Linked DNA regions of Homo sapiens: region 1 is linked to region 2. Evidence: promoter capture Hi-C in human tissues and cell types (Jung and others, 2019). All regions are on one chromosome and are shown on one strand. Each heading gives the region's core, a stretch centred on a gene start or on the middle of the fragment in contact. The rest is flanking DNA. Distances are from core to core; before and after follow the strand shown. Region 1 holds the start of LOC124902121 (a long non-coding RNA gene). Region 2 holds the start of CER1 (cerberus 1, DAN family BMP antagonist).

The links. Contacts are between HindIII fragments. The study calls those that stand out against the background at their distance.
Region 1: a contact is called between a fragment that was not itself captured here and the fragment with the promoter of CER1 in region 2, in 4 of the 25 tissues and cell types used here (IMR-90 fibroblasts, mesenchymal stem cells, mesendoderm cells and 1 more).

What each region holds. Positions count from the first base shown.
Region 1 is chr9:14,477,336-14,482,484 of GRCh38, forward strand. It overlaps LOC124902121 (a long non-coding RNA gene), which reads right to left and starts at 4,727. Exons shown (of 2, transcript XR_007061420.1): 1 at 4,601-4,727; 2 at 3,399-3,610. It also overlaps a transcript of NFIB not described here. The HindIII fragment of the contact is 4,618 bases long and covers 1-3,747 here.
Region 2 is chr9:14,721,130-14,726,765 of GRCh38, forward strand. CER1 (cerberus 1, DAN family BMP antagonist) reads right to left here and starts at 1,604. Exons shown (of 2, transcript NM_005454.3): 1 at 1,037-1,604. The coding sequence starts at 1,543. RefSeq lists enhancers at 752-1,691, 1,692-2,629. The HindIII fragment of the contact is 6,126 bases long and covers 463-5,636 here.

The sequences.
Region 1 (5,149 bases), core at 189-2,688, 240 kb before region 2:
GTGACGGTAGGTATTCCAAATCTTTTTCTGGGTATATATAAGTGAATGTATATCTAAATAACAAAATGTCACCTATTCAGATTTCTCAATATCAGAACCATCCAAATAATGAGATTGGCCTAAAAGGATTTTTTTGAAATGCTTATCCATTTAAACTATCATGCCGAGTAATAATTGAGGAGTAATTCCTCATGGTATGTGGCATATGGTGGGATGTGCTGGTTGGTTGCCATGGAGATTCATTTGGTGGTATATTGCGAAGTGAGGTTGGTGGCTGTTCTGGTAATGCATGAGTTGGGCTGGTTCAGAGTTATTTCTATGTTGTAAAAGCAATAAAGTTTAAAGTACTGAAATGAAAGTATACAAATACATTACACATCCCATTCTTACTTCATAATCCATATAATGGAAAGTGGAGAACGTATTCAGAAGATGTATAGATTGGATTAAGGTTTTGTTTTGTTGTTATCATTGGGTTCTTTTGTAGGTAGAATATCTAGATTCGTTAATCTAGCCACATTGCAAGCATTTTGGCAAAAAATAGTTCTTCTACTGTATTTGTAATCCTGATGTTGGCTGATGTCTTCCAGACCCATAAGATCTAGATGAACAGCTTGAACCACCCCACCCCCCATTCTATGCCCTGAGGAAATCTAAGGTTCTCCTCAAGATTTCTACATATTTTCAAAGATTTGATGTGCTTCCAAAGCCAAGAAAGGCTCCCTATTCTCTGGCTGCTGTCTCTGTTCTGCATTGTTGACTTATATGGTCAACTTGGCCCCTTCCTGGATTTAGGCATGCACACACACCTACATATTCACACAAAGCATTAGTGACTTTAGTGACGATTTGAGGATTATTGGCCAGACTTCCTACTAGGAAGCACACAGCAAGCTATTTAAAATCACTCATTAACGACTTCACTTCTTAAGTCTTTTCCTCCATCTTGCTTCAGGGAGAGCTACACTTGCTTTTGCCTCAGATGCTGCTAGCCCCTCACCTTCTCTCTCTCTCCTCTCCTTATCTTTTCTGCTGTCATCTCCTTCCTTCAAACATACAGAACAGGTTAGACTTCTTTACTTCCTTCTGCAATAGCTGCATCTCCAAACATATTAAAGTACTGAGTAGAACACCATTTAACAGAGTCTACCCTAAAGAGATCTTGTATAAAAATGGGAAAAATTTATTACATTTATATAGAAATCACTTGGGTATTGTTATATTTTACAAAATGGGACAATATAATACATATTATTACGCAATTTGCTTTTTCAATCTCTCATCAGCATATCATGAATAACATTTCAGGGAACTTAAATCAACCTTACTCTTTTTAATGGCTGAGTATTACTCCATAGTGTATTATATTTAGGAATCCCCTCTATCAGTATATATTTAGCATTTCTCTACAATTTTTCACTCTTATAATGATGTAATGAATATCCTTGCACATGCATATTTTCACATTGCTATGAGTGATTGCTGCAGGAAAAGCCCTAGAAGTGGAATTATGGTCAAGACATAAGCATATTTAAAATTTTGATAGACTCTCTCAAATTGCTCACAAAATAGCATGTGTATTCATTCCCATCACCAGGGTGCACACTCACAAAGGATATTTGTAAAGCCTTTTAGAACAACTTTAAACAGTTGCTGGCATATTACATCATCCTTGCAGATGTTAAATAGTTGGGATTAGACCAAGAAATTATTTGTAAACACTGCCACCTAAACCCACTGCAAATCTACATGACAGGGAAAAAATATTGGAAATAAAACTAAATAGAGATCCCAGGTCCCTCACCCAGTGAATAAAAGAGAATCTAAGTCTAGTTAGAATTTTAGTAGGAAGCTAATCTTACAGACAATCACTGAGGAAAGGCACAGAAAAGCACCCTTGTGGGGGATTGCAGGGGGCTCTGGGAGTGCATGTAGATACCAGCAAGTAGCAGTGACATCATCTTCTTCTTTATATGGGAAACACCCTCATGGTACTGAAACCCATACTAGCAGACTTCCAAATGAAACTTCTTCGGAGAAACAGCTGTGGGTTTCACAGAGGGCCATCCTTCAATCTACAGGCTTGGGTATGGTGGAGCTTTTGGCCACATTGCTTCTGACAATCTGTCCATGTCCCCAGCCCTGAGGCTTAATGCTAGAAGCTACAGCCTACCTCATACACAGGACAGTTCCTTGCACATGTTGGCAAAGTTTCTAGGGTAAAGATGTTACCACTGAGTACTATTTGGGGAATGGAAACAGGAGATCTGAGATCTGGCTCAGATACTGCCCCTCACTCATGTTTTGTCCTTAGGTCAACTGTCATGTCTCACTTTCTTCATTTGTAAATTGGGTATTACAAAGGCTTCGCATACCTTCCAAGTAAAGATCATGTGCATTCACACATATTAAGGCAGTCTGTAGCACAAATTGGGTTTCAAATGTAAGGCTTTGTTAATAAAGAAGGTTCTCTTACAGCTCTTTGTAAACACTACGGGAAACAAACAAACCAACAAAACCCATTTCCAACAAATCAAAAGAAAAAGAGATCTGAAATTAGATAGCAGTGATGGGTTGCACAACCTTGTGAATATACTGAAAATCCCTGGTTGGAAAAAAAGAAAGAAGACAGGAAGGAAGGAAGAAGGAGAAGGAGGCAGGGAGGGAGGGAGGAAGGGAAAGAGACAGAAAGGTTTTTTTTTGTTTTGTTTTGTTTTTTGTTTTTTTTAATTGCAGAGATAATCAAAGGTGTAGGGAGGGAACTAACTTCCTTGGAGCATATTTTATAAGTCAGGCCCTCTTCAATTTTTCAGATATGGGGTCTTTATTTCATCTCCCCATAATTTGAGATGTAGAAATTATTGCCCAGATTTTTTGGGAAAATGAGAGTTTCAGTACCTTGACCAGGTCATAGGGCAATTACCTTGCCCAGAATTTGAATCTAACACTTCTTGACTCCTAGGCCTGAGCTTTTTAGCTGTACCATGCTGCTTCTTGACCCAGTCAAAAGCTCAAAGCAAGCATAAGATTTGCCAATGACATCAGACCCACATATTCAGACTCCCCTCAAGAGACTCTATGTGAAAGAACTTGAGAGATTTCCTTGATGCTAATCTCAAAAGTTAAGTGAAGTGCCCCTGACTGAGAAGGACAGTCCATTATGTGTCTAGTGTTTATACACTCATCATAGCCTTCCTGGGTCTATTTGTATTTTCATCCCAAAACCTTGTCTTGGGTTAATGAGCCCCACAAGTTCTCTAGCCAAACGTTTATTGGCTTCCAGCTTAACATAAGCTTGTACCTAATCAATGTAGCCGTTGAAACAAGTTCCACGCTGGCAAATTCCCAAAGCAAAAGGAGGTAAATGAGAACAACATGAATGAGACAAACAAGGGAGCCACCATGGAGGAACAGTTTAATCAACACTTAGAGAAACATGGCTGCCTCCTGCTGAGATGGAAATAAATCTGTTTTGTAGACATCCTGGTGCCTTTAACCATATCCTCTTCCTGTAGTATGAAGCCTTTCAGCTTTTGCATCACTCCTGCTGGAAATCACTTCATAACAAAAGAAGTTGAAAAATTTCAGATCCAGGCTTTAAAATTAAGTTCTAAAAAATAAAAACAGTAGCAGACACAGTTGGTGCCTTACCTATAACACCTTGGACATTTACTGTGAACCCCATGACTCACTGCCTGAGGATTTTGCCAGACTGGGGAGCATGACAGACCAGTGTGCAAAGCAAGTAGGAAGCGCTAGGCTGTAAACTCCCCCAGAAGTTGCTCTCATCCAATGGCTGGGTTCATGGATAACTAATTTGATGGACAAAGAGTCAAAAACTGAGTGTGTGTGTGTGTGTGTGTATATATATATATATATATATATATATATATATATGTAGCTTAGCATCCCAGCTTCATGGTTGGGGTAACTCAAGGTGTGTTTTGCTCTGTCCTCCAGAGTTCTTGAGCTCCATGTGCCTAGAGCAGCAACTGGTTTAATAAGGCTTCCTTTGTTGGCCTCCTTCCCTTCCCTGTCTCACTTCCCCATTTCCCTCCTGCTGTTTCCTGGGATTATCTCCCAAAAAAACCTCTTGCATTAAAATCTTTGTCTCTGAGTCTCCTTCAAGAGGAACCCAAAACAAGACAAGGGTGACTCACACTCTCTCGATGAAAATTGAAATGATCATTAAGAAAATAAGCTTTCGGCCTTTCTCTTTAGTCCTATTGACTTTGGATTTCTCTCATCCCTTTAGAACTTCTCCTCCGTCGACTGATTTCCCAAGGTCCCAAAATTTGCCTGACCACCTGCAAACTAAGTGTTTCCCCATCTCCATGGCCACTCCTGGTTCCATTCACTAGTTCTCTCCGGATATTACTACCTGGAAAGTTAAACCTGCTAACATATAGAATGTTAGAACTGGGCAGGAAGGAACCTGAGACCTGTAAGGCCTTGTGATCTGTCAAAGAGACTCACCCAAGGTAGAAATCATGCTTTTTGGTCCCCAACACCAGGTGCTATGCAGGTTCTTTCCTCTCTTTCCCCAGTTCTGACACAGTCTCTCCCCTCACTCCATTCCCTGCATTGGCACCATTTTTACCTTTGGTCCTCTCCCAGTTATTGGCCGGACTAAATGACCTCTGAAGCCCTTGAAAGTTATTTACCTTCAGTGACTCTTACCCTCATCTTCTAACTAAGGGTTGGAATGTTGGAATACTGAGACGATGCCCCACCCCCCCACCCCAAATGACCACCACCAGACCTTCCTGAAATGCCATGTTCTAGGAGATCACTTCTTTCTCCCAAAAACAAGGTTTTGGTCACTGAGCTAACAAATTAGTTTTCTTAGTTCACGAATCCCATCTCTGTTAAACTTCTTTGTCTATATCAAAAGTAGCTCCTCCATTTTTCTCCTCTCAAACAAATCCCTGCCAGATACAGTGCCCTGACCAAGGGCATAGTTAGCCATAAAATCATCATGCATCTGTCCTAAACCCATTCTAATGGCCCTGGGGCAGGAGGGGATATCGTGTTATGTCCCCTCCTCCTCAGCCATGCATCCCGCTCTCTGGAGTACTGCCAGCTCCCTTCACCAGTCCCCATTTGCAGAACCCCTCACCCCCTCACCATGTTCTTAGGAAGATGAATC
Region 2 (5,636 bases), core at 354-2,853:
CTTGCCATTGCTACATATCCTTGCCTTTTCAGGCAGAATACTTAACTGCCTTGAACAGTCAATTGCCCTATTCTATTGCTTGCTTAATTGGGTAGCATTACTCGACTATAAAATTTTACTCTACCCTGCATGTTTTTGGTTCAATATCTTCATGTTTAAGGACCTAATGCAAGTTCTCAATTTTAATTTAACATTTGGAATGTAGATATTGCCAGAGGAAGTAGACAGTAGGATGTCCCTTTGTCTTAATAGCATGGAATTGATCATAATAACTACAAATCAGCCAACACAACATGAATCAGGAGAAAGGTACTTCTAAGGGGAGGAGATATGATCTCACATCAAGATTGATTTTTTAAAAAGCTCATATGAGAAAATAAGTGAAAGAAAATCACTTTTTTGCTATCATAATACTAGAAATGATATGACAACTTTTGCCTGAGAACCTCAACGTACTTTGAGGTTGTGGGATAGCTTTAGCAAGCTATTAAAGAAGTCCCTCATAAACCTATAAAGTAATTAAGTATGGACTATGGGGATTAAGACCATCGTAAATGGATATGAGAGTATTTGGGAAGGAGTCCAATGCACCCCACTTTATCAACAAATGGAGTTGACCTGCTCATCCACATATTAATAGAGTGCAGAAAGATAGCTACAGAGGAGTTCTGGTGATTACTCTAAATTCTCAGTTTCCTAACTGAGGGTACAGTCTGACTTATATCTCTGAGTAGATCACCTCCAATGCAAAAATAAATAAATAAAACAGAGCTCTGTGTCTTCAGTGTGAATGAATGATTACTGATATTGACAGTATCATCATATCATTCTTGCAGCATTTCCACAATGCCAAGAAAAAATGGAAAGGCCAGAAGGAAACTTAATCTTTGCCAAATCCTATGATGAATGCCCAAGGACCAAATCTGTAGTTAAGCTAGAGTCAGGCTCCTGACAGCCTTTTCCCCTACTCTCCATCCATCCCAGCTGTCCACTACCACCTGCAAACTCTTACCTGCTCTCCCCCCAGAACACATACCTGGCTGAAGGGCACTGTCCTGCAGGTCTCCCAATGTACTTCATGGCTTTTGATGGGCAAGATGACCCCCTGAGAAGCCGGAGTTTTTCTGAACATGAAGTGGTGCCAGAATTTCTTGGCTTCTTCCCGAAGAGGAGATTTCTCCATTTTCATTCCATCTATCGGCTGGATGAGGGACTGGGTCCCAGGTGGGAAGGGCTCACTATCTGAGTCCCTGGATGGATGCATTTCTCTCTCAGGCTTCTTCCAGAACCTGCCAAATCTGGACAGCATCTTCTCTCTCTGCCTCTGGCCTTCCCCTGCAGGGCTGGTGGCTACAAGGTGTGGCACTGCGACAAACAGATCTGGCTTCTCCTCAGCTTCCTCATGGTTGCCTGTGGGAAGCTCTCTTTGATTCCTTGGCAGGAGTACGGGGGAAAGAGAACTCTGATTCTGGCGGCCATCCTGGTGCCGTGTGGTCTTTCCTAGAGGCAGGAGTACCAGCAGCTGAAATAAGAGGAGATGCATGCTGTCAGGGGCCCAAGCTTCTTTTGTAAATGATGAGGCCCAAAGGAGAGGCTCATTCTCTGCAGGACTGGGAAAAAGGAAATCGTATATATAGATACCTGCCTGGCGGGATGGGAAGGCAGGTGGTCAGTAGCCAGGCAGAATAAACACATTTATTGTTTGCTTGAATTATGTAGTGCTAATGGCCTCCTGCCGTCACTTTGGTTTTGTGTATTTTAAAAGGCCCCAGTGAAAGCCTGGGACCCAGGGGGTAATTAGCTAAGAGTTTAGCTATGTCTGGGGCTTAAAGAGCAGTATTAGCAAAGACAACACATTCTTTGCCTAAATTTCCCATGGCTGTTTTCAGAAGAAGGACTAGAGTCAGCTCACATTTGCTGTGCATCTGCCTTGTGCTGGAATAGAATAGACAAGACATGTTGCTGTAAGAGAAGTTTTTGGATAAAAATTAAAGGCATACATTTAGAAAAAGCCCAGGCCTTTAGGAAGGCTATTCACACACACACACACACACACACACACACACACACACACACACACACGAAGAAGTATATCAAAGTTGTAAGGAGAAGAAAGGAAGAGCTAGAAGGATGTTAATTTTTTTGAGCAAGGGACATATTGTTTCTTACTTACATGCAAATTGGGGTTATTGATTTTTGCACAGTAACTGAGTAAAGGGAATATGTTTTCCTTTCCACACGTAGAAACTCACAATTCCCAAGTTAATCCTCTCACATTAAGAATCAATTAATGGGTGCTAAATTTCACAACTGGTCAGTCATCAGATAAACTCTTCCAATTGTTCACATGTTCCTCAACAGGATACCACGTAATAGACTGACAGCTCATCAGTCTTCAATGAGGATAGGGAAATGTCTCCCTCCAGCCATCCTATTGATTTTTTTTTCCCTTTGAACAAAGAGCCAGACATGAGAACGTGGATTCTAAGAACCAGGTTTGATAACTTTGTGTGTGACGCTGGCTAGTCAGTTTCTTACCTTATTGAATCCACATCATCTCCCCTTGTTTTACACTAATTGATGGCCAGGCTAAATAAAGATTGACACAAATAAGAGTCTTCGGGGATCAAAGGAAAAATTGAAAAATAACTATCATTCAAAACTATCATGAATCAGCCTAGGATACGAAAAAGAAACACGTCCAGAAAACTGAAACCCCAGAATAGAGTCCGATCAGCCTACCACATGATTCAAACAGTATTTCCACTGGGAAGCAATGCAATATCTGCTTTTATTTCTCCCCTTTTAATTCAATCACTATATTCCTTGCTTTCAATAACACAAATAGTCCTGGAACATGTTCCCCCTTTTTTGTCAATACTGATTAAACTTTCTTTCCAAGAAGTGACCCACTGGAGTCTGTTTTCCAGGCATTTCTGTTCTTCTTGATAGCCATGCCTGATTTCTATGAAATAAAGCCTTAAGTAAGTCCCTTTACCCATGATAATGAGCTATTTTTAACATGGACCATCACTTTACCAGAATGCCATGAGTGGAGATATATTGTACTTGTACCAAATATCTATGGAACGTGTGCTAGTATTAATGAAAGGTGCTGTTGATATATAATAAATAAGCATGTGTATTTGCCATTGTTTTTTTTTATTTTAGGAAAAGGGTTCTGCTCTGTTGCCCAGTCTGGAGTGCAGTGGTGCAATCATAGCACTCTGTAACCTCAAACTCCTAGGCTCAAGCAAGCCTCCTGAGTAGCTGGGACTACAGGCACACTACCACACCTGGCTATTTAAAATTTTGTGTTGTTGTTGAAACAGAGCCTCACTCTGTTGCCCAAGCTGCTCTGAAACTCTTAGCCTTGAGCCACCATCTTGCCTCTGCCTCCCAAAGTGCTGGGATTACAGGCGTGAGCCACCATGCTATGTCAACATCTTTTTTTTTTTAATTGACTGCTACTTGAATTTCTTAATTCCCCTCAGCCATCCAATGCTATACGCTTTCCAGAGCTAGTCACTAGGCCTCCTGGTATAATATGGTGTGGAAGCCAGCTGTGATACCTTTCCTGAATCCTTTTAACTGTTACTTTTCAGTAACTGAAATTCCATTGTTATCAATCAGAGTATCTACTATTTCCCAAAACTAAAGACAATCTCAGAAATTCTATCTCGGGTCTCAGTTTGCTTGGCTCTGGAATTACTGAACATGAGATACAGTTGAGATAATTCCTGTTGAACTGCAATGTGTAGAAGACTCACTTTGTGTGTTAAGAATCATATTAGATACTGGTAGATAATTGAAAAATGAGTAAAACTTTGTCCCTGCCCTCAAGTAGGTTAGATAGTCTAGTGGGATTTCTTATGCATCATCTAACTTTATTGTATAAAATCATCTATAGGGATGTCAGTTATCCATTTTTCACTTTCCTTTAGTCCTAAACTTCCCTTCCTCTGATCCTAATTTGGGGCTTATAAGTGCCATTTAAAAATCACTCACAGAGAATATCCTTTTGCTGTTCTGTCACTTCTTTTGAGAAAATGTGCAAATATCTTGAAATATTCTCCCTACTCCCATTAGTAAATACTATCCGTGAAAAGTAAATCTAGCAAAGCCAAGCCTTCTGTGATGAGAACTATGAAACAAGCCTATCTCCAACCTCTGCCTTTTTCAGCTAAAGGCAATGACTATCACCTTTCACTATCGTGTCCATTCACCAATTCTAAAGCCATTGATACACTGTGTGTGTATAATTATGTGTGTATAATTATGTATGTATAACATGTAATATATGTATAATGTAATACATTATAATCTCTTAAGAAAATAAGTGAAGATTTTGTAGCTTTCAGCAAAAATATGCTGCCTCTGTTGGTCTTCAGTTGATACAGGCATCTAGTTACCTCCCAATTTGGATGAACCAAATGGAAATGGAAGTAGGTCTGCAGGAGGTCTCCAGACCCAGTAGGAAGCTTTCATGAGGAGACAGCATCGCCAATTATTAGTGCACTTAGTACCAAATGCCACAGTGAAGGGTGAGCCTGAGTTCATGTGAGTGAGCCCAAGCCTCCTAAGTCCACTTCCTGGGCCAACCCTAGACATGCATGAGAACCAGAGGGGCCAATCCCAGAATCCATTCATTTCCATTTACAGTTCAGGCTTTCAGCAGAATCTGACTGTTTTCAACTTGACTTGGGTTTCTTAGGCACTAAGATGTCTTCAGGAACTCTAAAGACCTCGAGAAGATACTTAAATAAAAAATGTTTTCATATGCTGGTGACACTTTTATAAAATGGACAAGAAAAGAGGCCCATGAGACCCAGCCGCTCAAGACACGTTGAGGTGGTTTGTCTCCTTTTCAGACCTCCCCAGTGTGCCTATGAGAGGACAGCAACAGCTACATTTTCTGTCCCTCTTACAGACTCTCAGAAGACAGTTAAAAAGAAGCCCAGTGCTCTCCAAGGGCGAACAGAGAGACTAAGTTCTTCCCTAAAAACCTATCTTAAATCAACAAAAGGTGAGAGGCAGTGTTGAGGTGGGGGGTGGACATTACAGTTAAACAGGACAACTGAGAGCTGGAAAAGGACATTTGGGTTGAAGGATTCAGGAGAGAAATCTGACTGGGGAGCATGCCACTGCCTCATCACTACCTCTCTTTTCAAAATACAGAATAGCAATCATGTCATGGCAGGTTAGATTATTTTTTTTTTAACTCAGAAGAAAACAGGACCTTTTTTCTTATTTTCCAAGGAACAAGGAAAAGGGAAAATTAGGATATATGATTTCCCCTTAAACTTTTAAATAAACAATTTACTTAATTATTCAAAATGTACACTCCCTCCTCCCCTTTCCATGGAAAAGACACGTGAGGAAGAGCCCCATTCCCTGAAGCTGCTCCTTTAACTGGACTAATTCTTTCATTCTTACAGCGCACACCTGAGTGCCAGCTCTGTTCTAGGAACTGGAGATAAGTGTTGAGAGTGTCTTTGTTCAGTTTCAGGTCTAGTGGATTTTGCAATCTATAGGGACAGCCTAGTATATTCAAAATAAGTTTTACAGGGAAAATTTAGGCCAGGCATGGTGGCTCATGCCTGTAATCCCAGCACTTTGGGAGGCGAAGGTGGGCA